7 separate regions of the Homo sapiens genome follow, and all the other regions are linked to region 1. Evidence: promoter capture Hi-C in 16 types of primary human blood cells and fetal thymus (Javierre and others, 2016). All regions are on one chromosome and are shown on one strand. Each heading gives the region's core, a stretch centred on a gene start or on the middle of the fragment in contact. The rest is flanking DNA. Distances are from core to core; before and after follow the strand shown.

What was found. Contacts are between HindIII fragments. The CHiCAGO score rates a contact against its expected background, and 5 or more counts as called.
Region 2: a fragment that was not itself captured here is called in contact with the fragment with the promoter of IGFBPL1 in region 1 in 2 of 17 cell types (M0 macrophages and M1 macrophages); the score reaches 5.9 in M0 macrophages.
Region 3: a fragment that was not itself captured here is called in contact with the fragment with the promoter of IGFBPL1 in region 1 in 3 of 17 cell types (endothelial precursors, M0 macrophages and M1 macrophages); the score reaches 7.9 in endothelial precursors.
Region 4: a fragment that was not itself captured here is called in contact with the fragment with the promoter of IGFBPL1 in region 1 in 4 of 17 cell types (endothelial precursors, M0 macrophages, M1 macrophages and 1 more); the score reaches 10.9 in endothelial precursors.
Region 5: a fragment that was not itself captured here is called in contact with the fragment with the promoter of IGFBPL1 in region 1 in 3 of 17 cell types (M0 macrophages, endothelial precursors and M2 macrophages); the score reaches 7.7 in M0 macrophages.
Region 6: a contact is called between a fragment that was not itself captured here and the fragment with the promoter of IGFBPL1 in region 1, in 1 of 17 cell types (naive CD8 T cells). The highest score is 5.1, in naive CD8 T cells.
Region 7: a fragment that was not itself captured here is called in contact with the fragment with the promoter of IGFBPL1 in region 1 in 5 of 17 cell types (megakaryocytes, total B cells, total CD8 T cells and 2 more); the score reaches 6.2 in megakaryocytes.

Annotation. Positions count from the first base shown.
Region 1 is chr9:38,422,799-38,426,733 of GRCh38, reverse strand. IGFBPL1 (insulin like growth factor binding protein like 1) reads left to right here and starts at 2,280. Exons shown (of 5, transcript NM_001007563.3): 1 at 2,280-2,769. The coding sequence starts at 2,310. It overlaps LOC105376041 (a long non-coding RNA gene), which reads right to left and starts at 2,123. Exons shown (of 8, transcript XR_007061487.1): 1 at 1,984-2,123; 2 at 1-84. RefSeq lists an enhancer at 1-1,235. The HindIII fragment of the contact is 4,043 bases long and covers 1-3,497 here.
Region 2 is chr9:37,690,546-37,694,480 of GRCh38, reverse strand. FRMPD1 (FERM and PDZ domain containing 1) reads right to left here. Exons shown (of 16, transcript NM_014907.3): 2 at 1,739-1,843. The coding sequence starts at 1,839. Among named protein-coding and RNA genes, the nearest start is that of FRMPD1, 42 kb to the right of the region's middle. The HindIII fragment of the contact is 2,413 bases long and covers 863-3,275 here.
Region 3 is chr9:37,706,765-37,710,699 of GRCh38, reverse strand. It overlaps FRMPD1 (FERM and PDZ domain containing 1), which reads right to left. Exons shown (of 16, transcript NM_014907.3): 3 at 3,127-3,284; 4 at 2,199-2,301. Among named protein-coding and RNA genes, the nearest start is that of TRMT10B, 45 kb to the left of the region's middle. The HindIII fragment of the contact is 765 bases long and covers 1,519-2,283 here.
Region 4 is chr9:37,722,803-37,726,737 of GRCh38, reverse strand. FRMPD1 (FERM and PDZ domain containing 1) reads right to left here. Exons shown (of 16, transcript NM_014907.3): 7 at 2,418-2,513. Among named protein-coding and RNA genes, the nearest start is that of TRMT10B, 29 kb to the left of the region's middle. The HindIII fragment of the contact is 1,610 bases long and covers 842-2,451 here.
Region 5 is chr9:37,740,943-37,744,877 of GRCh38, reverse strand. It overlaps FRMPD1 (FERM and PDZ domain containing 1), which reads right to left. Exons shown (of 16, transcript NM_014907.3): 16 at 1-489. Among named protein-coding and RNA genes, the nearest start is that of TRMT10B, 11 kb to the left of the region's middle. The HindIII fragment of the contact is 3,466 bases long and covers 452-3,917 here.
Region 6 is chr9:37,867,916-37,871,850 of GRCh38, reverse strand. No RefSeq gene overlaps it. Among named protein-coding and RNA genes, the nearest start is that of SLC25A51, 34 kb to the left of the region's middle. The HindIII fragment of the contact is 2,188 bases long and covers 977-3,164 here.
Region 7 is chr9:37,900,177-37,904,111 of GRCh38, reverse strand. SLC25A51 (solute carrier family 25 member 51) reads left to right here. Exons shown (of 3, transcript NM_033412.4): 1 at 1-44. It also overlaps the pseudogene PAICSP1. Among named protein-coding and RNA genes, the nearest start is that of SLC25A51, 2.0 kb to the left of the region's middle. RefSeq lists a silencer at 1-544. The HindIII fragment of the contact is 310 bases long and covers 1,343-1,652 here.

The sequences.
Region 1 (3,935 bases), core at 1,031-3,530:
AGTTCGCTTATCTCTTTTGTTTGCAAATCCTGCTTTGTTCATTTAACATTATAAGTGTTTCCTTCTCATAGTGAGACCCCATCTCTGAAAAAAAAAAATTGTTTAAATTAGCCAGGCGTGGTGGTGCTCACCTATAGTCCTAGATACTCAGGAGGCTGAGTGGGGGAGGACGGCTTGAGGCTCAGGAGTTTGAGGCTGCAGTGAGCTATGATCATGACATTGCACTCCAACCTGGGCAGCAGAATGAGGTACCATCTCTTTTTTTTTTTTTTTTTAAAAAAAGGGTTTCCTTCACATCATTAAAAACAATCTTAAATTTTTGCATGTTTACACATTCACATATTTACAAATATGCCATTACATTAGATGTGCACTTTTTAACCGCTATTTTACTAAACAATGTATTATAAACATGTTTTCATTTCTATTAACCCATATTTTCTTTCTAATTGTTAATGCCTGCATAATCCTCTATTGTTAGATGTACCATAATTTATTTAACGATTGCCTCTCGGTGGGCATTTAGGTCGTTAACTTTTTTTATTTTTATTTTATTTATTTATTTATTTTTTGCTATAGTAACCAACTCCAGGATGAAATCTTCACACATAGTGATCATTTTTTTAGGAGAGATTCCTGGAAGAGCACAGAGGGGTCAAGCGGTGAGAGCACTTTAAAAGGCCACTCCTGGTAAAGACAGCAGCCTCCAGGTTGAAAGTCACTGTTGATAGGTTCTGAGAGCTGCGCTGAGTGCATTACCAACATTGTTATATTTATTCCTTACCACCACCCCTTCATGGTGCCTAACCGCCCCTGCTCTGTGTGGCTGATTGTAAGGTAAGGCCTGGCGTGGACCAGGCAGATGGCCCTCCTCTGACCACCACATAAAGTGGCCTCAGAAGAGGCTCCTTTCTGGGGATAAGAAGACTGCAAACTGGGAAGGAACTGGGCTTGAAAAGCAAAATGAACCCCACCCAAGAACGGTGTAGCTGGTCTTCCCAGGCTGCAAGAGGCTTTCTCCATCTCCAGGAGTTCAGCAAAGAAAAAACAATAGAGCACAAGACACATGAGGGGTGGCCAGTAAAGGCAGGAAAAGTCTCCTATAAAACCTGCTCAGCGAGTCCCTCCCTCCATCCAGTGCATTTACCCAGCAACACATCAAATCCCAGCAGCCAAGACTCTCTTAGGTTTCTCGTCTGGGTGCCCTGCCAGAACTCAGGCAGGATGGTGTGCACAGAGCCTGGCCCAGAGAAGGCGCAACGGCGGCATGAATAACTGACTACAAGAAACTGCATCTTTCCAACATGCATTCCCCAGTAAGCCACAGGTACACTGACCCTTGTGCACCAAGACTTCATCAAAGCATTATTCGTATTAACCAAAGGATGGAAAATAAGTGGTTAAATAACTGCAACTAAACCCTGTGGAAAGGCCACTCTGTATGAACTCCAAAATATATCACCATATCTCATCACAACAAAGTCACTGTGGACGGAGATGTACCATGACTTTATGCAGCATTAAGAAACACACTCACAGAGCCAATGAACTATGCTCCCATTGATTGTATAAGAAACCCAGTTTCACAGATGACAAGAGGTGGGGAAACTGTGAAACACTGTAAGTGCAAAAACCAAGTGCAGACTAATGTGTATGGCACGCTACTCTGTGTGTGTGAGAGAGAAACAGAGTGTGTGTGTTTTAAAGGAAGGGGCTTTTTTAGGCACATGTACTTTTATAGGCATAGAGAAAATTTCTGAAAAGATATACAAAAACCCGATAGCAAGAGTGGCCTCTGGAAGCCGAGTTGGAGGATGGGGATACAAGGTGGTAGGGTAACCCTCTTTTCATCCTTAGATGTATATGTAAAATCTACATTTTAAACCATATATTCTCTTTATAAAATAAAACTTTGAAAACTACTGAATGCAAAATAAAATTAAATAAAATAGCGCATCCTTCTGGGAGGATTTACGGGCATACTATCTGGAGCCAGCCTTGGATCCGGAGACCGTACGGTTATCCAATCCTGACTCTGCCATAGCGACCTCGGGCAAGTTGTCGCCCCGACTGGGTCTCGGTTCCCTCAAGAGTCCAATCGGAGGTCGGAGAGCTGCTCTCGGGGCGACCCTCCAGCTCGGAGACCCGGGCCGCGGGCACCGCGCGGGTCCCGGGCTGGAGCAGCGGTCTGCGGGCGCCCCGCGGTGCAGGCCCGGCCAATCAGCGGCCGCGGGGCGGGAGCGGTGACTGCTCGGCGGGCGCGGAGCGGAGCGCGAAGCAGAGGCGCCGCCGCTGTCCCGGAGCAAGCCATGCCGCGCTTGTCTCTGCTCTTGCCGCTGCTGCTTCTGCTGCTGCTGCCGCTGCTGCCGCCGCTGTCCCCGAGCCTTGGGATCCGCGACGTGGGCGGCCGGCGCCCCAAGTGTGGTCCGTGCCGGCCAGAGGGCTGCCCGGCGCCTGCGCCCTGCCCGGCGCCCGGGATCTCGGCGCTCGACGAGTGCGGCTGCTGCGCCCGCTGCCTGGGAGCCGAGGGCGCGAGCTGCGGGGGCCGCGCCGGCGGGCGCTGTGGCCCCGGCCTGGTATGCGCGAGCCAGGCCGCTGGGGCAGCGCCCGAGGGCACCGGGCTCTGCGTGTGCGCGCAGCGCGGCACCGTCTGCGGCTCCGACGGTCGCTCGTACCCCAGCGTCTGCGCGCTGCGCCTGCGCGCTCGGCACACGCCCCGCGCGCACCCCGGTCACCTGCACAAGGCGCGCGACGGCCCTTGCGAGTTCGGTGAGTCAGGGTCGGGGATTGGGTGGGTAGAGAAGGAGGGATTCCAACCCTCTGGGGTGTGGAGCGAAGGATCCCCCTGCCCAGTGGTGGACGGCGCTGCCTGGCACTCAGTTTCCCCTTAGGGAGCAGTATTTCATATCTCTCCTCGTGCTCAGAGAGACTGGGGCGAGAATCCTTGGAGACGCCACTCACTGTGCTAGTCGAATTTTTGGTGAGCCTGCTACCCCTTTTGGTACTTAAGTACCTGCTGATGCAGTCACTTATTTGTAGGCATGGTATGTTTGCCCAGCAGGAGACTGGGAGTTAAGGAGGGGGATCCGAGTTCCCAGGTATCCAGCGCTAGGTGGATTGTTTGAATGGGGAGGAAGGGAAGTTGAGGTTGGGGGAGGAAGGGAAGTAGAGGATAGGGGAGGAAGGGAAGTTGAGGATGCAGGAGGAGGATGAGTTCCAGACTGGGGAATCAGTAGTCACCAGGCCACAGCACCAGAGCACCAGGGCCCCCGGTGTGGGAAGGGGCTGAGCTGGGATGCTGAGGGAGCTCCATCCAGGAGAAGTAAGACCTTTGGAGACGTAAGGTCTGAAAAGATTGTGGTGCTATTAGGGGCAGACTCAGGTTTCGTGCTTCTAAAACATATATAATTTGGAGAGTCCTGCCTTAAGTAAAGGAATAGAACTGCTAGGGACTTAGAAACTTATTATGAAATGCTAGGGACTTAGAAACTTAAGCTTCATTAACATCACAGTAAAATAATCTCTGAGTGCTATAGTTGCCCACCCTCTTTATGTACCTTTTGAAAACCAAACAAAAAGAAACCAAAACGTTAGCACTGCTTTACCGGCTTCCTAAGCATGAGTGTATTCCACCCACTAGGTTTTGAAGTGCCGCTGTGTACTTTGCCTGGAGTGGGCAGTGCTGAGTTTAGGGTGAGTGAGAAGGTGGCCAGTGAGTCCCAAGGAGCCTGGGTTTCGGCCTGGAGTTCAGGCTTCTGGGAAATAATTCTGGCCTGAGCCCAGAGACCAAGTCCAGACTTTAGTGCCTAAGTCAGTGTAATGACTTAGCTTCAAGAAAGAAGCCTGGGGTGGGGTGAGACCTTTCCAAGCCTTAAGAAGTATCTAGTAGTCTTTCCTCTCAAGTAGTTCAGGTAGATGTACCCAAGTCCAGGAGA
Region 2 (3,935 bases), core at 820-3,319, 730 kb after region 1:
TTCTTTTTATAGTATTGAAAATATTCTAAAATTAGATAGCAGTGATGGTTGTCACCTTTCATTTACAGTCTGTGAGAAGGCAAGATGTTAAGAGGGTTCCAAGGTCAAATATCCAGGCAACATCAAGTTAAACAGGTCTCTTTCTCTGCGAGACTTCTCAGAGCCTTTAATCTGTATTACATGCATAATGTGTATAATAAATCACCAAGTCGGGGAAGGCAGAAGTAGGATATAGGATGCATCATTTCCCAAACATGTATGGCCACAGAATCTCTTTTAATGGAGCAGCATCACACAGGACTAGGTTTTGCAGACCCCACTGTGGGAAACAATGTGCTTAGCAGTTTTTCCATTCATTCATCAGGCACTACCTGACCACCTACAACACTCATGCAAGACAATCACTTCTGGGCCATAGAGATGAAGCCAATACTTTCCTGGACCTCACAGAAGGCAGGTCTAGGAGAAAGGAAATGAATGGGCTCGAAAAGTTGAATGCACCAGGGGGAGCACAATGCCAGTGCTACAAATAAAATACTACGGGGTCCTATGGAGAAATTCATCCTGACTCTAGACAGAGGAAGGCTTCATGGAAGACCCAGCACTTCAGCCAAGCCTTAAGCTGCGGGGGGTTCTGGCCACATGGAGATGGGAGGAAGGGATATGGCCCAGGAGCCCAGGTCCAAGGGGTGAAAGAGAAGAGAGGGTGCTTGTAGTAGAATAATAAGTGTTCCCTTTAGCTGGAGCATACTGTGAAGGAAGCAGAGTAGTAAGACAAATAGCTGGAAAGGATTGCAGCTTGAAACGTCAGACCAAAAATGTTTAAGCTTCCTCCTATAATAAATGGGGACCCATCCAAGCTTTCTGAGCATTGGGTAAGAGTGGTCCTAAACAAGTCACTCTATGAGCCTTAGGTGTTTCATCTGTAAAAGGGAGCCCCATTTTATCTGACCTCGGTGTGTGAGGATCAGAGAACTTGGCCACAGGGCAGTGGAGCCCTGAGCAAAGTTTATTACTCAGCAGCAGAACAGCTGTTTCCAGTTCCTTTGGAAGAATGTGTGTCTCAGAAACACCTGACACGTGATATTTCATCTCTGTGGCAGGGCCAGATGGGAAATCCAAGCAAAAATGAACGCTTCGAAACAGAACATATTTGAAAGTTCTCCTGTAGCAGTCAAATCAGATCTGTATTTGATTTCATTTTATTTTGTTTAGAATGACATAGGGACTGCAAGGAAGGAACAGCTGCTGGAAACGAAGACACAGAAAGACACAGAAGACACAGAAAGAATATAAACGGCAGATTACCTGACCTTCATGTCAAGTACTAAGACAAGAGGTGTGTGTCTCTATGTGTGTGTGTGTCTGTGTGTGTGTCAGAGAGAGATCAAAAGAGTGTATGTATGAGTGTGTGCTCCAGAGAGTGTATATGCATGTGCGTATGAGTATGTATGAGTGTATTTCTGTGTGTATGTCTGTGTGTCAGTGTGTTTGTAAATGTTGTAAGTGTGTGTGAGTTGGGGTGTCTCTGTGTGTGTGTAGGTACATGTTGGGGGTAGGGTACAGGGAAAAGCACTCCAGCAAAATTGCTGACCTGTTTACACTGCTCCCACCATATGGTGTAAGAACAAAGCAAGCCGGAGACAGCAATCCCAAGGTGCGGCCAGGACCAGCACAAGCTCCTCCCCCGGGACACCAGACCTTTATAGACAGAAATCTGCAAACTCAGGAGGCTTACCGGGCCGAGCTGTCCCGGGAGCGCCGAAGCCATCTTGCCACCATTTGTTCTATTCTATGTGCTTTCCGTGTCTGGAATAAACTGGTCTCCAGCTCTTCCATTTACCTAAAAGGAAGAAGAGTGTTCTTAAGATGCTAACCAAAATACTCTAAAGAGGATTTTGATAAATCAGGACGATGCTTCCTTTATTTGCCCATTATAAGACATGCTAATCGAATAACTAGTGTTCTCCCTTAGTCTAAAATCAACATAAACAGGTGCTCAATGTTCACAGAGTGAACAACTTTAGCAACCCTCAATCTTGCAGCAAACAGACTGGGTTTGTATCTTAAACAGTTAAACATAAGGATGAGAGAGTAAAATAGATAACGTTTCTCAAACTTTGTGACTGTGACCCATAGGAAGAGATACACCTTACCATGTGACACCGTCCTTCCCTCTCCCAACTATGTGTGCAACCCTGGACAATGCGGTTCAGTTTTGCCTGCATCAGGAACCCCATGGACATGGAAGCATTCTTCATCACATTGTGCAGATTCCTCTGAGCGCTGCTGCTTTTGTTCAATCTTTTATACTTAATTTTTGAATAAGTATTTCACTTACATAATTCAACACTAGCTTATAAAAAAGATAGTTACTGTATTGTGTGCTTAAAAATTTAAGAGGGTAGATCTCAAGTGTTCTTATCATAATAAAAAATATGTAGACAGTGAAAAGTCTGTCTTATATCCTTCCTTGCTCCTACCCACCCAGTTCCCATGCCCATACATAATCACTGCTCTTGTTTTCCATTTGTCCTTCCAGAGTTTCTTTTCTTTTCTTTTCTTTTCTTTTTTGAGATGGAGTCTCGCTCTGTCACCCAGGCTGGAGTGCAGTGGCACGATCTTGGCTCACAGCAACCTCCACCTCCCGGGTTCAAGTTATTCTCCTGCCTCCTCAGCCTCCCGAGTAGCTGGGACTACAGGCACATGCCTCTGCACCTGGCTAATTTTTGTATTTTTAGTAGAGATGGGGTTTCACCATGTTGGCCAGGCTGGTCTTGAACGCCTGACCTCAAGTGATCTGCCCGCCTTGGCCTCCCAAAGTGCTGGGATTATAGGCATGAGCCACCACACCCAGACTGTCTTATTCTTTTAAAAAAATTATCTTGGAACACTTTTAGATGTATAAAAAGTTTGCAAAGATAATATAGGGTTCCCATATCCCTTCATTCAGCTTTCCCTAATATTAACATCTTACATAATTATTTTACCTTTGTAAAAATTAAGAAATTAACATTGGTACGATATTATTAACTGAACTATAGACTATGTTCAAATTTTACCAGTTTTTCACTAATGTGCTTTTTCTGTACCATGATCCAATCTAGGGGTGCTGATTTGCCCAGTGGCTCAGGAATTAGGGGCAGTAAGTACAGGAGAAAGCAAGGATGAGCATAAGGTTGAAAATATGGAAATACCTACCTAGACAACTATCTCTTTCCCATCCTACTGAAGATAAGAGGCTTATTTTCTGGAGAAAACGAACAAGAGAAGCTTGGGGAGACTAGGCACAATAGACGGTACAGGAATTAAAATAGAAGAAGTAAGTAAAACTCTTCTAACTGAATGACAAGACCTCTTCCTGTGCCCAGTTCTCTGAATACTGTCAGCGAGTACTTTATATCCTGCTATGGTTTGAATGTGTTCCTGAAGTTCATGTGTTGAAAACTTAATTTCCATTGCAACAGAGTTGAGAGGTGAAACTTATAAGAGGTGATTAGGTCATGCAGGCTGTGTCCTCATGAATGAATTAATGCCATTACTGTGGGTGTGAGTTCCTGATAAAAGGATAACTTTGGCCTCTTTCCACACTCTCTTGTGTGCTCTTTTGCCCTTCCACCTTCTTCCATGGGATGATACAGCAAGAAGGCCCTTACCAGATACCAGCACCTCAATATTAGACTTTCCAGCCTCCAGAATTGTGAGAAATAAATTTCTTTTCTTCATAAATTACCCAGTCTGTGATATTATATAGCAACACAAAACAGACTAAGACATGTCCCAAGCAAAAGATTAGAGAATCCTTCTCTGGAGGACTGAATAGCACCAGAGAAAAGACCTTCAGATATTGACATTTTCGGGATCCCTGCAGGGAAAAGGTAACTTGCTGCCAGATCATCTTGCATTGAAATGTATTAATCAATGAGCCAGACCCA
Region 3 (3,935 bases), core at 652-3,151, 720 kb after region 1:
CCACCGTGCCCAACCCAAAAAAATTTTTTAGGAGAAAATATGGCAATAACACAGATAACTCAGGTTGCTATTTCATAAAACTCAGGCTAAACATTTCACTAAACAGAATGAATGTCTGTGGATAACGTTTATCAGATAAAAGCCAAAGAGTTTATGGTGTTTGGGCACACAAAGTCGGTGTAATGAGCCCAATCATATAATCAAGATAGTAGACATCTTTGTCTTGCATTATCTCTTAGATTTCAAAAGTGATCAAATCAAGCAGATAACTGCTTGACCTCTACTTTATATTAGCGGCCAGAACAGAGAAAATCGATCATATTTTCCTTTCTCTTTGCCACTGCTACCATGGAGAAGCAGTTGGCAAAATAATTTCATTTGACTTCTTGCAATATGAACATTTAGGCCAATTGCTGCTGGTGTGTTATTTCCTCAAAAGGATAAACTCAACCCAAGATGTCTAAGTGTCTAGGGACTTCCTCTTTTCCATTTTAAATGAGAACAGGCCTTTTCTGAGATAAATCACAATAAACCCAAATGCAAGTGCTCTAAAAGGACATACTGGCCTCATAGCTATTTGGAGGAATTTGAGATGTTTTCTTGGCATTGTTGTTGTATCTTTTTGTTTTGCTTTGTGTTTTACCTTTTACACGTGACACTGAATAATACATGCTGGTTTTAGACACTGGGAACTAAGCTTAAAAAAAGTAAGGCGTCCTGGGATTCTCACATGCAAAAGACAGCAGAGGGTACAGATGCACAGCACACCTCAAGTCATGCATCCCTGCTCAGAAGCCTTCAACTGCTCGCCCTTCCAGGGGGAGAATCACACTGAAACATGCTGTGCTGGCATTCAAGACCTTCTATCATCTGGACTTCACTTCCTAGAACTTTTCTGCAGGCAAACTGAACTGCTCAGCAGCCCCTACTTCCCACCCAGTTGCTTCTGTTTACCTCTTTGCCTGAATCACCCTTCACCTCCATCTTTTGGACCAAATTTTACCCAGCATTAAAGACACAACTGAAATATTTCTGGGCCCTTCTCTGTTTTGTCAGCCTACAACTTCTGCCCAAGTTGGAGGACTCTCCAGCATTTACAGTGTATTTCCTTGGCTTTTCTTTTCTTTTTCTTTCTCTCTTTTTTTGAGATGGAGTCTTGTTCTGTCACCCAGGCTGGAGTGCAGTGGTACAATCGTGGCCCATTGCAACCTCTGCCTCCCGGGTTCAAGCGATTCTCCTGCCTCAGCCACCCGAGTAGCTGGGATGGGAAGACCACTTGAGCCCAAGAGTTTGAGACCAGCCTAGGCAACACAGCAAGTCCCCATCTCAAAAAAAAAGGGAAAAAAAAACAATTAATACCACCCCAAAGCCAGATCAGCCATTCATGAAAAATCACAAACTGAATTTTATATATATATATATATCTCTTCAAGTTAGCTTTCATCTACCTCTGATTCTCGTCTGTCTTTATACTAGTCATTAGAACAATGTTGAGTGAAAAATTTAAAAGCCAAAGCTTCATGTGCCCTTAAAATGTCTGCTTGTCCTCTTCACTCCTATCAATGGCACTCCTCCGTCTTAAAGTCTGGGTTGCCAATTCCCAGCGCTAACCATATTCACTCATTTAACTGAGCACCCACTGAGCCCTGGTCTCAGGAAATCATTGTCTAGGTAAAAAGCGAGGCATTTTCATAAGTCACAATGACACCAGACAGAAGGTTTGGAGGTGCTACATCAATGAAACTACATATATGCCAACCAAGATGCACCTGCAATTATATTTAAGAAGATATATCAAGAGGGATAAAGAAGAACAGATTTGGCATCAATTTAGTTCAATCTTTGGCATATGTTACAACGTGCCTATAAATCCTTAGAGGGTAGGGCCTGTGGGTTATTTATGATCATTACATTCCCTGCATGCTTAGCACGGTGTCTTGGGCATAGCAGGGCTTTGACAAATACAGCACTCTGTGCCTCCCAAGCTCTTTTGTAGGCAAGTGAGAGAGAGTGGACTGTAACAGCCACTAACAAGAAGCCGTTTTAATAGATGGAACTCTAAAACGAGGCTGTTTTTGCTGCTTTAAAGGAGACTTAGCCTTATTAAAATCAGGGGATCAGTTATGCCATTCCTGTTGCCCATCTTTGTTCTTTGATAATCTGTGCAATTCTGTAGATGATGGAAGACCATTTAGTACCTGAGAATATCGACTGCTCGTTCCCAGGAAAGGTCTTCAGCAGGCTCATTGTTCATTTGGAGGATCTGATCACCAGGGAAAAGCTTGCCGTGAGCAGAGCCTCCTGTTGGACAGAAAATAAGTAATTGGTGCTCATGCCGGGAGGACCCAGACTCTATGTGTAATAGCGGCACAGTTAAATGGCACCCTGATCCAGTTCCCAGGGGCACTGGCTCACTCCCCCGCCTTCAGTCAGGCTTGGGCTCATGTGGATCTTAATTTTCCTGTTTATAAACCATGGATAATGTACCTATCATCTATCACCAACTTCCAGGGATGTTAGAAGACTGTCCTGAGAAAGAAAACTAGCAGAAACCTTCTAAATCAATAGAGTTGGCCAGTAAATCTACTCCATTCATCTCTAAAAAACTCTGGTGTGTATGTGTAGTAAATAGAAATCAATACATTTTAACGAATCCCAGATTAACACACCTCAATTATGAAAACAAGCACTGGACTTTCCCCACCTGCTCCTCTCCACCCTGGTACAGCCTGTATTTCACAAGGTTCAAATGAAAACAAATCAATGGTTTCTATTACTGTCTGACCAGAAAGTATCCCCAGCTAGGAGCGTGTGGGGTTCAAAGAGGAAGGCTAGCTTAGCCAAATACTTTCACTGCCCCTGAGACCAGCCAGGGAGCCAAGGGTGGGCAACGCCCTAGCCAAGGCCAGTGGGAGCCTGGGGTTTGGAGCGGCAAGTGCACTTGAGGCTTCCTCCCTCCCAGCATCAAAGTAAGGTGCAAAGCCCAAGACAGAATTAGGTGTGCCTTTTCTAACTTCCCAGGTAGGATTTTCTGCATTTTGTTATAGGATAGAGAGATCGGGGAGATTTGGGGCTATTTCCCCTTAAGAAACCAAACTCCTTTCTCATTTCCCAGTCATCCCCTACCTGCTGTGACAGCCACCACTGTAAGGGGAAGGCTCTCAGAAATGTGAAATCCATAGTCCTGGAGGAGGGTGTCTTTGTCTATCTTTACTGTGTGTCGCACAGGGATGAGGGTCTGAGTTGGGTTCCTGGCGGGCCCATCAGCTGCAGCAACTTTAGCCCTGGAAGAGAAGGAGTATGTAAAAAAGAGAAAGAGAAGACTCTAGTTGTTGGTCACGAACTGGGTCAGCCCTAAGCATCATGGAGAAAGATGCAGAACTGAGCAGACACCAATTCTCCTCTTGAGACAAATAAGACACCAACTCCACTAGCAGAACTTAGGACTGTCCTCTAAAAGAGAAGTCGTATTGCCAGGCATTCTTAATGAGCTAATGCTAAATATCTAGAAAGCGCCCAGGAAGTGCTATGGACACACAGAGAAGGGGGAGAGCAGTTTCACCTTTGTAGGGCAGGGAATAGGGAATCAGGGACGCATCTGGTACTTGGAAGAGGTGGCATTTGAGCTGCACTCTGAGACATGTCTAGGGTATACCTATACAGCCCAGATCCTGGCACACAGAAGATATTCAATAACTGCTGCTGAGTGAATCAATGAATGAATGGATGGATGGATGGATGGATGGATGGATGGATGGATGGACGGACTGACAGAAGAACAGGCAGATGGGCATCCCAGGCAGGACATACTGCTGGAGTCAGAGGTACAGGAGAGGAAAAACATGGATGGTGAGCAGAAACAAGGAGTTGTCAGGTTCAGATGTTTGATGACGGATAATTTTATAGCAAGATTTTGTCTTTGGTGATGTTTTTCT
Region 4 (3,935 bases), core at 397-2,896, 700 kb after region 1:
GGGTAATTTATTTATTTATTTATTTATATTTATTTTTTTGAGATGGAGTTTCGCTCTCATCGCCCAGGCTGGAGTGCAGTGGCATGGTCTCGGCTCACTGCAACCTCTGCCTCCCAGGTTCAAGCAATTCTCCTGCCTCAGCCTCCCAAGTAGCTGGGACTACAGGCTTGCACCACCATGCCTGGCTAATTTTTGTATTATTAGTAGAGACAGGGTTTTACCATGTTGGCCAGGCTGGTCTCAAACTCCTGACCTCAGTTGATCCACCCACTTCGGCCTCCTAAACTGCTGGGATTACAGGCATGAGCCACTGCACCCGGCCCCTGGGTAATTTATTGCCAAGTTGTTGGTGATATAGAAATGCCTGGCACACAAAAAGTGTCAATAAATGTTTACTGGGTCAAATGACATATTCTTTTTCTTGGTTTAGAGAAAGAGGGTTTTCTAATACAAGAACTTTTCTTCCCTTAGTGAGGGAAAGGGGAAGAGAAGTCACTGATGAGTGGACAGTAATTTTTCCTTTTTTCACTCATAAGATTTATTTATGTCCACCTTTCTCTGTGTCGTAAACAGCTAAAGACTTTGCTTTAAAAAATTTGGCTATTACAGATAAATAAGATTAACCAGTATTATACTGGCTAAGTCCTTGTTCATTTCCCCAACTCTCTCTGTCATCTTAAGTTTAATTCCCCTGTAATGTGGGCCTTTATTGTAAACTACCTCAAAGTCCTTTTGGCCACCAAAGGGGGACTTGCTTTAAAAAAAATCAACCCTTCTATTCCAATCCACTTTGAGCAAAGATGATGAAAGTAGAACTCTTGTCTAATCCATTTGCAAAGCTTCCCTTTTCTGCAGAATGGCAGAGTGACAAGATTCCAGCACAGGATTCAAAAACAGACCAAGTTCAAAGCCAGTTATGAGCTAGCTGATCTTGACAGCTTTTGGGCCTCTTGGGCCTGTTTTCTCTTCTGCAAAGTGGGGATAACACTAGTTACTTCACAAGGTTGCTAGGGCATTAAATGAGATCGTATACAAGAAAGTGCCCAGGAAGCGTGCCTGGCATGTAGTAAACACTTAAAGTCTATTCCTCCATTGCTTCCTCCTCTGGGCTTGGAGTTCCCCAGGTTCAGAAAGCCCTTCTCCAGCTTCTTCTAACTCACATTTAGGAAGAAATAGAATAGAGCATTTGGAGCAGCTGTAGGAATTGCCAAATGAAGGTGCCAGAGAGAAGCACTGGATGTGTGCGTACAGGTGTATGTACATTGTACATATGTGTGCATGCATATGCATGTGTGTGAATGTACTGTGCAGATGTGTGTGTGCATGTGTGTCTTGGCTACTGTTTGTCCCCTATAGCTGCATTGGCCCTCCTGAACCTGCTCTCCCCTTGTACCAGAAGAGCTGGGCTCAATGTTTCCTCTTACATGGTTTTTACTGTTTGAACAACTTTGCTTCTTCACTGCGGCCTCACTCTAACACTATTTACTCCCTTGTTCAAGAACTGCTAGCACCATACGATATTATCTATGGATAAAACTCAAGCTCTATTGTTGCCTGGCATTTGAGGCCCTCCACAGCCACTCCTTCCACAAGAAAACAGCCTGTGCCCCAGTCCTGCTGGATGGTTTGCTATTTCCTGGGCAATTGCCATTTTTCTGGCTCTCTGCATTAGTTCACGTGACTCTCTGATTGATATGTACCCTACCCTCAACTGCCCTGTCCCTACTGGCCCTTGTTGAAATCTTAGTTATCCTCCAAAGCTCAGCGCAGGTCCAGCTTCTTTCCCATGCCTTGTCTGAAGTCTGGACAGGCTGGAAGAGATGGTACTCTTCCCCTTGCACTTGGCCCTTATTTCATCCTGCCTTGGACAATCAAGCATTCCCTGAACGTCCACCGTCCCTCAACTAGACTGCAAGCTCCTGAAGATCGAGACCACCCCTGACTAAGCTCAGTAACCCCTCTCAGATCATCTCATATGGGGAAACTTGTGAAGTATAAGTTCAATTGACTTTAACCAAGAACAGAATAGGCAGCGCCTGGGCCTTTCCTGACATCTCACCTGGGTTTTCGTAGTGTTTGGCGTAGCAGGTAGAGTCACAGACAAATGGCAGGGAAGCCTGGTGGTTATGGGTGAAGGCTTAGGAGTTCTAATCTGACCTTTGGGCAAGTCACTTCATCTCTCTAAGTCCCGATTCCCACCCCTTAACCCCCACCCAGTTACGATGGTGGTAAAAAGACCATCTTTCTGGGTGGTCGTGCAACGAAATGAGATAACATGGCACCTGGCTTATTATTACAGGGGCTCAGACCACGGTGTTTGTGAGACCACCAAGGCAGATGCAGGGCAAGATGCCTGGGGGGTCCTAGCAGCCAGAACATTCTTCTTGGGAAAAGAAGTTCAAGTTTATTCTTAATACCTTCACGGTTGTGTTTGCCTCAAACTTGAAAGCTTTGGTCTGTCCATTCTCCAAGTATAGCTTGAGCACGTTGGGCATACACAGCAGAGAATTACCCTGGAAAACACAAGAGTATTGTTGTATCCCTGTCTTTTTTTATTCCTTCTGGAGACAGGGTCTCTCTCTGTCACCCAGGCTGGAGAACAGTGGTACGATCTCGGCTCACTCAACCTCTGACTCCCAGGTTCAAGCGACTCTCCCACCTCAGCCTGCCAAATAGCTGGGATTACAGGCACCTGCCACCACGACTGGCTTTTATTTTTTTTTATTTTTTTTATTTTTTTTGACAGAGTCTCACTCTGTCACCCAGGCTGGAGTGCAGTGGTGCAATCTTGGCTCACTGCAACTTCCACCTCCTGGGTTCAAGCAAATTCTCCTGTCTCAGCCTCCCGAGTAGCTGAGACTACAGGCACACACCACCATGCCCAGCTAATTTTTGTATTTTTTTTTTAGTAGAGATGGGGTTTCACCATGTTGGCCAGGCTGGTCTTGAACTCCTGACCTCAGGTGATCCACCCGCCTCAGCCTCCCAAAGTGCTGGGATTACAGGCCTAAGCCACTGTGCCCAGCCTAATTTTTGTATTTTTAGTAGAGACAGGGTTTCACCATGTTGGCCAGCTGGTCTCGAACCCCTGGCCTCAAGTGATCCGCCTGACTTGGCCTCCCAAAATACTAGGATTATAGGCGTGAGCCACCATGCCTGGCCTGTTGTATCCCAGTCACAGCTTTCCTGCCCCTGGGTATGACAAATCCTTGGCTGTCTGGACCTGCCTGGTTTGGAGAGTAGGATCCTCCCTAACCTCCTCACCATGTCAGGGGTTCTTTCTTGGCACTTGGGAATTTCTTCAATGCACAGGCATGCTTTGTCAAGGGATACCCATGAGGACTGTTAGATACGACAAACGGTGGAGAAGAGTGAGCCCTTCTACGAGCGTACTGATAGCACTGCGCGAGCCTGTGCAATGTCTCATGACCATCAGCTCACGTTTTACTGCTGGCTGTACCCTTATGGGAGGCAATTTGGCAAGCCAGATGACCAGCATGCACACTGTTCAACATGGGCCTTTCAGAGATTCTTAGACTCTACCTTGTAGGATTGGGGTGGGATGGAGAGGGTAGGGAAGCCTCTCCTACCCTCATTTTATTGCTGCATTCCCTGTAATGAAATATCACCAAAGGGCAGAGGGATGCTCTCCACTACATTCACCCCAATTATCACCCTAGATGCATGAGGTCCCCTAAGGGACTCTGCCACTCTCGTAGGGCTATTTGGGGAAAAGGCACAGGACTGGTCTGTGTTGGGTGGCCCCATGCCAGCTAGAACTCCTGGGATGGAGCAGGAGAGGGTTTTGGAGAATCTCCCAGCTCTCGTAAGAATATACCTAATGCTAAATGACGAGTTAATAGGTGCAGCACACCAGCATGGCACATGTATACATATGTAACTAACCTGCACATTGTGCACATGTACCCTAAAAC
Region 5 (3,935 bases), core at 935-3,434, 680 kb after region 1:
CAATCCGGAAGCGAATGGCAGAAATAGAAGACACTCGAGAGTCGATGACTGATTTGGTTTCCATGGTCTCGGGCTCCATCTCCATGACCCTGGAGGCTGGGTTTGTGCTCTTGGTCTCCCTCAGAGGAGCCAGCAGCCCCAAGGCCTTGGTCTCCAGAAGGCCAGGCTCACCCTGCATGTCCTGCAGAGAGGACACAGTTGGGGAGGGTGCACCAAGGGCCAGGTAGGGCTCCCTGTCATAGTAGCACACGTCGTCTACACTCTCCAGGGAGGCTGATGGCACCAGGGGAAATGAGACCTGAGAGGTGTAGTCGGTCTGTAGGAAAGACCTTCTTTTCCTCAGGGTCTTGGCATATTTCTTCACCCCTCCCCTCCTGCTTGGCTGTCTTCCATCTGGCCCACAAGGCAGGCTGTTCTCAGGGCTAGAAGTGCTGGCCTTATTCTGCAAGCTTGTGGCACTGGGTTCTGCAGTAGAAACATCTCTGGGCCCTGGGAGTCAGGAAAGAAAAAATACATTAAAAAGCACAAAAAAAAGAGGTTAATAGAGCTTGGGCTCAGGCCTTGGGCTTTCCTGGGTTTAAATTCTGGCTAGGCTGTGTAACCTTGAGCAAGTTCAATCCTGATCTCCTCAACTTCCTCATCTGAAAGATGGGGATAATAATTGTGACAGATTTTTTTTTATTTTTTTGAGACGGAGTCTCTTTCTGTCACCCAGGCTGGAGTGCAGTGGCGTGATCTCGGCTCACTGCAACCTCTGCCTCCCAGGTTCAAGCAATTCTCCTGCCTCATCCCCCCGGAGTAGCTGAGATTACAGGCATCTGCCACCATGCCCAGCTAATTTTTGTATTTTTAGTAGAGATGGGGTTTCACCATATTGGTCAGGGTGGTCTCGAACTCCTGACCTCAAATGATCCGCCTACCTAGGCCTGGGATTACAGGCATGAGCCACCGCGCCTGGCCGACTTTTTTTTTTCTTTTTTTTTGAGACAGGGTCTCACTCTGTCCCCCAGGCTATAGTGCAGTGGTGTGACGGCTCACAGCAGCCTTGAACTCCTGAGTTCAAGCAATCCTCCCACCTCAGCCTCCCAAGGTGCTTGGATTATAGGATTGAGCCACTGCACCCAGCTGTGATAGACATTATTAAATTTTTGGATGCCTAAGATCCATTTAATTATCTTTTGGTCACAGCATCTCAACTTCTGTTTAGGGAATGACATCTCCCCAATGGTTAGAGTCTGCTGGAACTGTTCACGAAGATGCTCTGTCCACGCCAGCCAATCAGCTACAAATTCTCCAGAATTCCAAACCCAAAGACATTAAAAAAAAAAAAAAAAAAAAAAAAAAAAAAAAAAAAAAAGCAGAGCCATTCTTTCCAACCACAATAGCTTGATAATACAGGTAGGGAATCCTGTGACTAGACTCTTAGCCTGGTTGCTGTCTATTTCTGAACCCAGGTCTTCAGGCTTGCCAGCAATTCTATAAACAATCTTACTTCCTAACACTTTTTCTTTGTGCTGATGTTAACCCAAGTCTTTTAGTGCCAATGGTGCCATTCAGTGCTGCCGTGCAGGTTAAAGGAATTAGTGCATTTTTATAAAGCACCCAGCACAAGGCCTCTGCCTCATTAGGTATTCACTAAAAGGAAGCTGCTCGTTATTGCCATTTCATGTCTGAATGTAAAGGGGCCACAACTCTGTCACAGGCATCGAGTTTTGTGCATCCCAGGATGGATCTTTCTGGGAGGAGAGGCACTATTGTAAAGAACCCTTGGGAATCAGCCAGAAGGAATTAGGATCAGAGCCTAGCACTTGAGAATCAGAGAGCTTGGGTAGTCAGACCAGTCATTTCTAACCTGGCTGTATGCTATTAGAAACCTTATCAAGTCCTAGGCTGCTCCCCACAATCTCTGAGGAGTCAGAATCTCTGAGGCTAGGGCCTAGGGATCTATAAGGTTTAGGTTTTTTTGTTTTTTGTTTTTTGAGACAGAATCTTGCTCTGTTGGCCAGGCTAGAGTTCAGTGGTGCAATCTCGGCTCACTGCAGCCTCTGCCTCCCAGGTTCCAGTGATTCTCCTACCTCAGCCTCCTGGGTAGCTGGGATTACAGGTGCACGCCACCATGCCTGGCTAATTTTTGTACTTTTAGTAAAGATGGGGTTTTGCCATGTTGGCCAGGCTAGTCTCAAACTCCCAACCTCAGGTGATCTGCCTGCTTCTGCCTCCCAAAGTGCTGGGATTACAAGTGTGAACCACTGCGCCCGGCCAAATCTATAGTTTTTAAACAAGGTCCCTCAGGTGATTCTGATGCCCAGTCACATTTGACTGCCCTAGGCTACTGACAGCCACCGACCAAGGAGTTTCTAAGTCCCAAAGACAAAGAGGCTCCAATAGTCAGTCAGGGGCCAAATCAGAACCCAGGCTGAGGAATCCTAGTTCTGGCTCTTTTCTCAGCACTACACTGGCTCCCTATAAAAAACAAAAACAAAAACAAAACAGTGTCTGGTATGAACCCCATATGTTCCTGACTAGACTCCCATAAAAGGGCCCTGACTGATGGTTTCTGCCACACTTCCATCCTGCCCCCCGGCACAATGGCTGGCCCTGCAGGGCAAGGCTGGGGCATGGAAAGTGGTTGTCTGGGTACTTTGGGGAGCAGTAAGGAGTCTGGCCATGGTTTCTCCTTTCCTTAGAGGTACAGTCAATTGAACTCAGTGTAGATGGTGGAGACTTCATTCATTCATTTAACAACAATTGCTAGACGCTGTGTGCTGGGGACACAGTGAGAAACACACAGTTCTAACGCTCAAAGGAGTTCTCGGTCTAGTGATGGAGAGAAACATCAACACAGAATCATACAAGTAAATATGTAATTTACAGGCTGTGCGAGGTGCCAGACAGGGAGAGCCCCAGGTAATGCAAGAACATGTGACAGAGATGGGGAGACTTGCCCTGGCCTGGGAAGCCTGGGAAATGTTCTCTGAGGAAGTGAATTCCAACCGGAATCTGATAGACGGATGGGCACCATCAGCCACGATCTGGGGAGGAGTGTTTCGGTCAGAAAGAGCAGCATGTGCAAAGGCTGGAGGAGGGGGAAAAAACAGGCACTTGTAGAAAGTGGCAAGGAGGTCTGTATGGCAGGAATGCAGGAGGAGGGAGAGAGACAGGCAGAGGCCATGTCACAGAGGGCCTCAAAGGGCCTGATGGGGCTCCCAGAGGAGCTGGCCTTTCTCTCCAGAACAGTGGGAGAGCACAGGAGGTCTGGGAATAGAGGATCAGAGAGCAGCAGGAAAGTGCCGAGACAGGAACAAGGGCTGCAGCTCTCCCAGCTCCTGGCAGGTCACCTTCAACATCCATGTGCTCTTTTCCAATATGTTTCCTTCAGAATGCAGTGTGTGTGTGTGTGTGTGTGTGTGTGTGTGTGTGTGTGTGTCCTGCCAGGATCTCAGTTCTGCTTGGAAAGACCCTCCACACTCTCGGTGGAGGAATGTATGAGGAACCTGATAGAAACACAGCCACCAGATCCCCTACCTTCTGATGTCAGGGTCCCTTGGACCCCAGAAGGCCTTGCAGGGCCACAGACGGCCTGTCTGTCTGGTTCTTCTTGCTTCAAGGCCTCCTTTAATGCAGCCTCAGGATCAGTGATGACATAGCCACTTCGCTCTGCCGGGCACTCCTGTCAAGCCCTTTCCTTTTTTGTAAATTCTGTCCCTCCCACAGGGCCCAGCCCATTTGCCCCCTCTTCTGGGAAGCCTTCCCTGATTCCCACTGTTGGATGAATCCCTCCCATCTGCTTGCCACAGTTGTCTGAACCTCCCTTGCAGGCCTGCCACGATGCCTAAAATTTGGTCCATGGAATCTGTATCTACCTCCTCAGAAGTGTACAGGGACCCTGTTTCACTCATGTGCCTTCCTCTCAAGCTTGGCCCCAGGCCTTGATC
Region 6 (3,935 bases), core at 821-3,320, 550 kb after region 1:
AATACTTGGTGAGCAGACAATGATAAAGCTCCCAAGAGTACTTGCCCATGGTCTTGAGTACTCTCCTGTAAGGGTGGGGGAGTCAGGGATAAGAACCTGATTCTAAGGCCTAAAATGGCAGTCTATTTCTGCCTAGTATACTCACTGGGACACACTGCCAAATAGAGATGATGCATAGACACCAGATAACCACTGATGACTGATAACGTCTCTGTTAATACATCCACCTTTACCCCATCAGGAACCAGGCAATCCTATAATTATCCCATTATTGTGGAAAAAATATATGTGGTTGAAGCCACACAGATCAAGAGAAAAACTCTAAGAATATGGCTCTGGAAGCAATAAACCTTAAAAAGTTGTAAGCTTGCTTATCTTTGCCTTTTAATAATATTGTGGTTTTTTTTTCAGCCTGATAATGTAGTTTTTGAGATGCAGCAACCAACTGTACATAATGTTCTATAAATGTACATGTGTCGTGATTTAAATACCTGTTTCAAGTTGATATCCTAAATAGTTATTAGTTTTTATTTATTTATTTATTTTTGAGACAGCGTCTCACTCTGTCACCCAGGCTGGTGGCATGATCAAGGCTGCCTCGACCTCCTGGGCTCAGGTGACCCGCCCACCTCACTGCCTGCCCCTCCCCCCACCTTCCCCAATAGCTGGAACTACAGGCTCGTGCCACCATGCCCAGCTTTTTTTGTATTTTTTGTAGAGATGGGGTTTTACCACGTTGCCCAGGCTGTTCTCAAACTCCTGGGCCCAAGCAGTCTGCCCGCCTTGGCCTCCTAAAGTGCTAGGATTACAGGCATGAGCCACTGCGTCCAGCATTATTTGTTTTAAAAGTAGTATATGACAGCTATAAACTAAAACAGCTAAGCCCTAGTAGATAAAGGTCTAGGGAATAAAAGCACTTATGTGTTACAAGACAACTCTGAAAATGTTACTGGCCCTATACACATAAGCGGAAGCTTTTCAACTTTTTCACAATGATATCAGAATAATTTTACCTGATTACAGAATAAAGCTGCAATACATTTCTCTTACAGTATGACACCTGTATTCACAATGTTCTACATAGTTTGTAAGCAGTAAACATTTTCTCACTGAATTATCAAAGCTGTATAGCAACTGAAGTTAGGCTATGAAGTCAGACAGAACCAGGTAGAAGTCTAACTCTGAAACTCACTAGGTATATGACTTTAGGTAAACGAATCTAAGCCTCAGTTTCTTCCTCTGTAAAATGGGAATAACTGTACCCACTTCATAAGAATGCCTTAAGGATTAAATAGTGCCTGTGAAGCGCTAAGGCTAGTACCCAACACTAGCACACAGTAAGCAAACAGAACAGTAGCCCCTAAAGATGTCCACATCCTTAATACCCAGAACTTGTATGTAATGTTACAGGGCAAGGGCTAATTAAGGTTGTAAATGGAATTAAGTTTGCTAATCAGCTGGCCTTAAAATGGAGAGATTATCCTGCATTATGCAGTTGGCCCAATGTAATCACGAAAGTCAATGTAAGCACGGTGGCGTACACTTGTAATCCCAGCACTTTGGGAGGCTGAGGCAGGAGGATCACTTGAGCCCAGGAGAGTTTGTGCCCAGCCTGGGCAACATAGTGAGACCCTGCCTCTTCAAAAATAAAAAAATTAAGTACTTTTTAAAAAAAAAAGAATATGCTTTTCTGCTGGTTTTGAAGGAAGAAGGGGCAATGAACCAAGGAATGCAGGTGGCCTCTAGATGCTGGAAAAGGCAAGGAAATGAATTGTCCCCTTAGGCTCCCAGAGGAAACACAGCCCCACCAACACCTTGATTTTAGCCCAGTGAGATCCATTTCTGACCTCCAGAACTGGAACATAAATTTTTGTTGTTTTAAATAACTGAGTTTATGGTAATTTGTTACAGCTGCAATAGAAAACAAATATACATTGTTGATTCCTTATTATTAACGCATGGCAAATAATTATTTCCCTTTCAATTAAAAATATATTTTTAAATAGCCCAAAATATGTCAGTCATAGAGATAACGAAATAGTGATAATTAGTGCTATGGTTAGTTAAATCAGTTTGTCTGAATGATTAATTTCACAAAATAATTTGAATTCAAAGGGATTCACTCTTTTTTTAATCTCCAATGATTTACCAAAAAGAGTGTCCCAAATATGATTATCATACTCTGGTGAATGAAAATAATCTGGTAAAATGAACCATCAATCACACTGTTAAATAATACAACAAGAAAATGAAATTCTAGAGAACACTGAAAAATATCATGTTCTGAGTTCTTATATAAGATTCAGTCACTGTAAACAGCTTGACAAAAAGGGTAAAAATCTATGAATGATGCTTCCTGTTGATAATACAATTTTCACTGAATAAAGAACTAATTTTAGAAACTCTACAAACATATTCATACCAAATAAACTTGCAAATGGCTAGAACATTAGTGAACATATGTGAAAGAATGCAATCTTAGTAAATGTGTTTTTAGTGTAAAATGCCAATTCTACATTTTAGATAGTGGCCTTCCTAAGATGAAATGTCCATATACCAGCTGAGACCCAGTTTATCCCTGGAGGTACAGGAAGAAATTTAGAACTTTAATTTTTAAAAATCGTATCCTTTTAAACTTTCGATTTTCCTCTGTGTATGTTTTATAATGTACTTAACAGATCAGTACAATAGTATACCCATCATTTATAGATAATCAAAATTTGGATCTTAAATTTTTTCTGATGGAGAGTGCATGATTGAAAAAGTCCAGAATGTCACTAACAAGAATTACCAAGCCACTGCCATTGTCATAGCCTTGTGCTTGATTTTGGTCTAAAAATGCACATATAGGTAGTTTAAACAAAAAATCTCCAGCAATTACTAAATCAAGTTTGCCATCAACCTTTTAAACAGGTTAACCACACACAAAAAGTGTGTCAAATGTTTCAAAGTAGCATTTATTTTTAAAAAATCATGTTATGAGGTAGACTTATATCACATATTCAATGCATTTATAATATAAAGGTTTTTTTAAATTAAAACCTTATATGTTTATGTAGGTGTGTATATAGATAAAATAAACTCATCTACAACTCTACATTCATCCATTTGAAAGACTCAAAACAATTAAAAAGGTAAAAAGCCAATTATAGTTTTAGAAAGCTTTTGTAATTCTGAAATGAAGAACATTTGATCTGTCCAAAAATTTGTGGGAAGGAGGTGGTTTTAATTTCAGAAGTTATTTTACTAAATTATACATTTTATAGCTAATTCTCAATGAATGTGAATATCTTTATTAGAAGGTAAGTGAAAGATACTGTAACTCTTTTATTACTTTGTACCCATCATGTCAAAATGATTACATCTAAGTAGGACCAGCTACATAATTTGCAAGCCCAGTACAAAATAAAAATGCAGTGCCCTTGTTCAAAAAGTTGAGAATTTCAAGATGGCTATAGCAAAGCATTAAAGTAAGCATGAGGCCTTTCAACTTTTTTTTTATTTTTTTTATTTTTTTGAGGCAATCTCACTCTGTTGCCCAGGCTGGAGTGCAGTGGTGTGCTCTCAGCTTACTGCAGTCTCAACTTCTTGGGCTCAGGTGATCCTCCCACCTCAGTTTCCCGAGTAGCTGGGACTATAGGTGTATGCCGCCATGCCTGGCTAATTGTGTTTTCATTTTTTGTAGAAATGGGGTCTCATTATGTTCCCCAGGCTGGTCTCAAACTCCCGGGCTCAAGCGATCCTCCTGCCTCGGCTTCCCAAAGTGCTGGGATTACAGGTGTGAGCTACTGCACCCAGCCTACATGGAATCTTTCTAAGTATGGGACACTATGTAACTGCACATGTACAACCTCTTTAAGCCAGCCCTGAATCTAAATCTCTTTCAACTACAGCTATGGAATACCAAGACGATAGTTATCTTTGTCCCTTGAGTT
Region 7 (3,935 bases), core at 248-2,747, 520 kb after region 1:
GGCCCCGGCTCGCTAGCCGTCCTGCGGGACGCCGGCGCTGATGGGTGAGTGTGGGACGAGCGTGGGGAAGCACCGGGCTTTCTTCGCATGAGGTTGGAGGGAGGGGAAACGCGCTGAAGGGCCCGCTGGGGCAGGCTGCCGCCCTGGGGGCCCATCCCTGTCTTCTGCGCGCTCCGGCTGCCCTGGCCCGGTCCCTGCGGGCCCCACCCAGGCGGCGCGGGCGGAATCAGTTCTGAGCCTCCTCGGCTCCGGGCTCCCCCGCCTGCCGCGGGTGTTTGTCCGGCTGCTGGGCGACCTTTCCCGCGAAGGCGCTGTCCCTTCATTCGGGCGCGCCCTGGGCTGGGGAGGCACCTCCCTGGTGCACAGGAACCGCAGGGGCGGGGAGGAGCCGGGAGCTGCCTGCGCCCGGGGGACAGCGGGGATGGCACCGCGCAAGGGCCTCTGCGTCCCGGGAGACTGGGATTTCGGCCTCACCTCGGGACCCCTGACTGTGAAGTGTCAGAAACGGAAGAGGACTTAGTGATCTTGTCCAACCCCCTCCCCGCCTTTCACAGGTTGGGGAAATGGACGCCTGGAGAACGGTAAGTTCAGCTACATAGCCTGGCAGTGCTTGTTCTGCGACAGCATATTGCATCGCGTTGTAGGAAGCTCACTTGTACAAGGATTTTCGGGGACGATGGTGTTGGTGGTGTTAGTCTCCATCCATTATTTGGTGTTCAGTTTAGCTAGATGGAGTATGTCAGCACCTCAACTTCCTGCAAAACCTTTGTTTTGCATCTCACAGCTCTACCTAGCTGATCTTAATTCCCACCTTCTGTTTTTCTCTACTTGTAATCTCTGAAACAGAAGCCCTTGAAATGTATAGTGACCTTGCCATTTTGAGCCGCCTCTGCCCGTGCTTTGAAAGGATTCCATAGGATCAAAAGGTGCTAGGACTCTTGAGGTCCCATAGTGGTTTAGAGCACAGGTTACCGCTTTGGAACTGGAATCACCCTTAGCGCATCTCAGGGGAAAACAAGCTAGGAGTTGACTCATCTGATCTCTCGTTTGGTAAATGAAAGCAAACTCAGATCAGTGGATTTTAAAATCAGATATTGCTTTGTCTTTATATTGGCAAGCTAGTGTCGTAACTAGGACTAGACCCAGGCTGATCTTGTTCTGAATGCTGACTCAGACCTGCTGACTAGTGGAAATTCACATCCTTTGAGAATTGGAGTCACCCTCTCCCCAGTTTTTGCAGAGACCTTTGTGCTAGGATCATATCTGTATCATGCTGATCCATGTAGGCTGTAAATTATAATAAGGTTTTAGACTTTACACTGTTTTCTTAGTCACAGAAGCTTGACACTTGTAGTTGCTTGAAAATCAAGTTCATTAACTGCTCCCTTATGATGAGATAGTTTTACGTAGCAAACAAGCGTAAAGTTATGGTAAATAAATTTTGCAATAAATTGCAAAGAATTATCCACATTAATGAATAAAAATATAAAGATCAGTTTAGCAAAGAAATTTAACCATGTTCACAGTATAGGTAAACATGCAAAAGTCTAAACTGTACTACCAAATAATGCTGTGCACATTATCCTTCTATTGCTAAATTAAGAACATATTCACACCATCCTGGTGTGTAGGATTAAACTAGAGAAAAAGCTTTAAATCTGTAAAGTCCAGGAGGGTTTCATAACATTTTTTCCCCCATCTAGGCCTATTTTTTAAATCTGAGAATCTCAATGTACAGTAATGTTCTTAAAATAGTTGGATATGGTGGTCAATAAATGGTTAACTTCTGTTAGCTGTAGTTTTCTGCTTGTTTAATAACAGTCCCCATTCTCACACAGAGTCATAAATAAACTAACCTTTATTTGCAAAATTTCAGAAAGTAATACAAGTAACATTCCAGTAAAAGTGAACATGGACAAAATTTTTATTGTTGTTCAAGTACACAAATAACTTGGCTTGTACTGTCAAGGAGCATGTGTAAACAGCTTGTAGGTGGTGACTTTAGAATTTAAAATATTTTGTGTGCTCCGTATGTAAAAATAAAATGGTTTTGACATTCATAAATTGTCACAATATCATGTAATCATGTACATTAATCTAAATATTCTTGTTGATTTAACATTGTTTAATTCTGAAACTGAAGAAGTGCAAAGCATTACATAGGTATCAAGCATTTCTAGACTAAGTTTTAGGACTTCAAATATTGATTAATCTTAGCTTGTAAGTGTACTAATAAGAGTTTTTAACTCATACCTATCAGCTGAATCAGTAAAAAGTAAGGATGTAGTAGAACTAATAATTATCAAACTCAATACCCTAACAGACTTCAGTGTCTAGAACATATCTTGAAGTTAATCATATTAAGCCCCAAAACTCTGTACATTAAGAAAGGGAGAGGAGAGAGGGAACAGATGATATTCTGGAACCTTTTTTTTCCCTTTAATCTTATTTTTACTGTGAATAACAACACTAGACTCACTGAAGATTTTGGGACACTTACTAGCAAGCATAGTTAAGACAAAATGCCAACTCTCTTAAATAGTAATAAGAGTTTTGCTCAAAGAAAAGTACACAGCCTTAAACAGTCAAGTTATGAAATAAAGGATAAAAATAGTTGTCTCACTTAAGAATTACAAGAAAATAAGCCAGGCACAGTGGCTCACACCTGTAATCCCAGCACTTTGGGAGGCCAAGGCAGGCTGGATCACTTGAGCTCAGGAGTTTGAGACCAGCCTGGCTAACATAGTGAAACCCCGTCTCCACTAAAAATACAGAAATTAGCCGGGTATTGTGGCATGCCTGTAATCCCAGCTACTTGGGAGGCTGAGGCAGGAGAATCGCTTGAACCCAGGAGGTGGAGGTTGCGGTGAGCCAAGATTGCGCCACTGCACTCCAGCCTGGGCAACAGAGTGAGACTCTGTCTCAAAAAAAAAATTTTTTTTTTAAACTAGGTGAGCATGGTGGCTGATGCCTGTAGTCCCCTTTGGGAGGCCAAGGCTGGCAGATGATGTGAGCCCAAGGAGTTTGAGACCAGCCTGGGCAACGTAGAGAAACCCTGTCTCTACAAAACATACAAAAATTAGCTGGGCTTGGTGGTGCGGGCCTGTGGTCCCAGGTACTCAGATGGCTGAGGTGGAAGGATTGCTTGAGCCCAGGAGGTCAAGGCTGCAGTAAGTGCAGTGAACTGCGAGGTAGCCACTGCATTCAGCCCAGGTGACAGAGCAAAACTCTGTCTCAAAAAAACAAAACAAAACTGAGAAATAGTAAGATTGGTAATTCACAAGCTGCTGCTTTGCTAGGAGTGGTAAGGTTATAAATTAGATAAACTGATAACCCTGCTCAAGAAAAAAGGGAACATAAGTACACAGGTTAGAAGTAATTTTTTAAAACAGCAAGTGTTGGATGGGTGCAGTGGCTTGTAAATCCCAGCACTTTGGGAGGCCAAGGCAGGAGTTCAAGACCAGCCTGGGCAACATAGCAAGGCCCCCTCTCTGCTAAAAAAATGTTTTTTAAAAGTTAGCCAAGCATGGTGGCATGCGCCTGTGGTCCTAGCTACTCAGGAGACTGAGGCCCCAGGGGTCCAGGCTGCAGTGAGCCATGATCGTACCACCGTACTCCAGTCTGGGTGACAGAACAAGACCCTGTCATTTTTTTTTTTTTTTCTGGATAGAGTCTTGCTGTGTCGCCCAGGCTGGAGTGCAGTGCTGTGATCTTGGTTTACTGCAACCTCTGCCTCCCGGGTTCAAGCAATTCTCCTGCCTCAGCCTCCCAGGTAGCTGGGACTACAGGTGCGTGCCACGATGCCTGGCTAAATTTTGGATTTTTCGTAGAGATGGGGTTTCACCGTGTTAGCCAGGATGGTCTCGATTTCCTGACCTCATTCATGATTCGCCTGCCTTGGCCTCCCAAAGTGATGGGATTACAGGCGTGAGCCA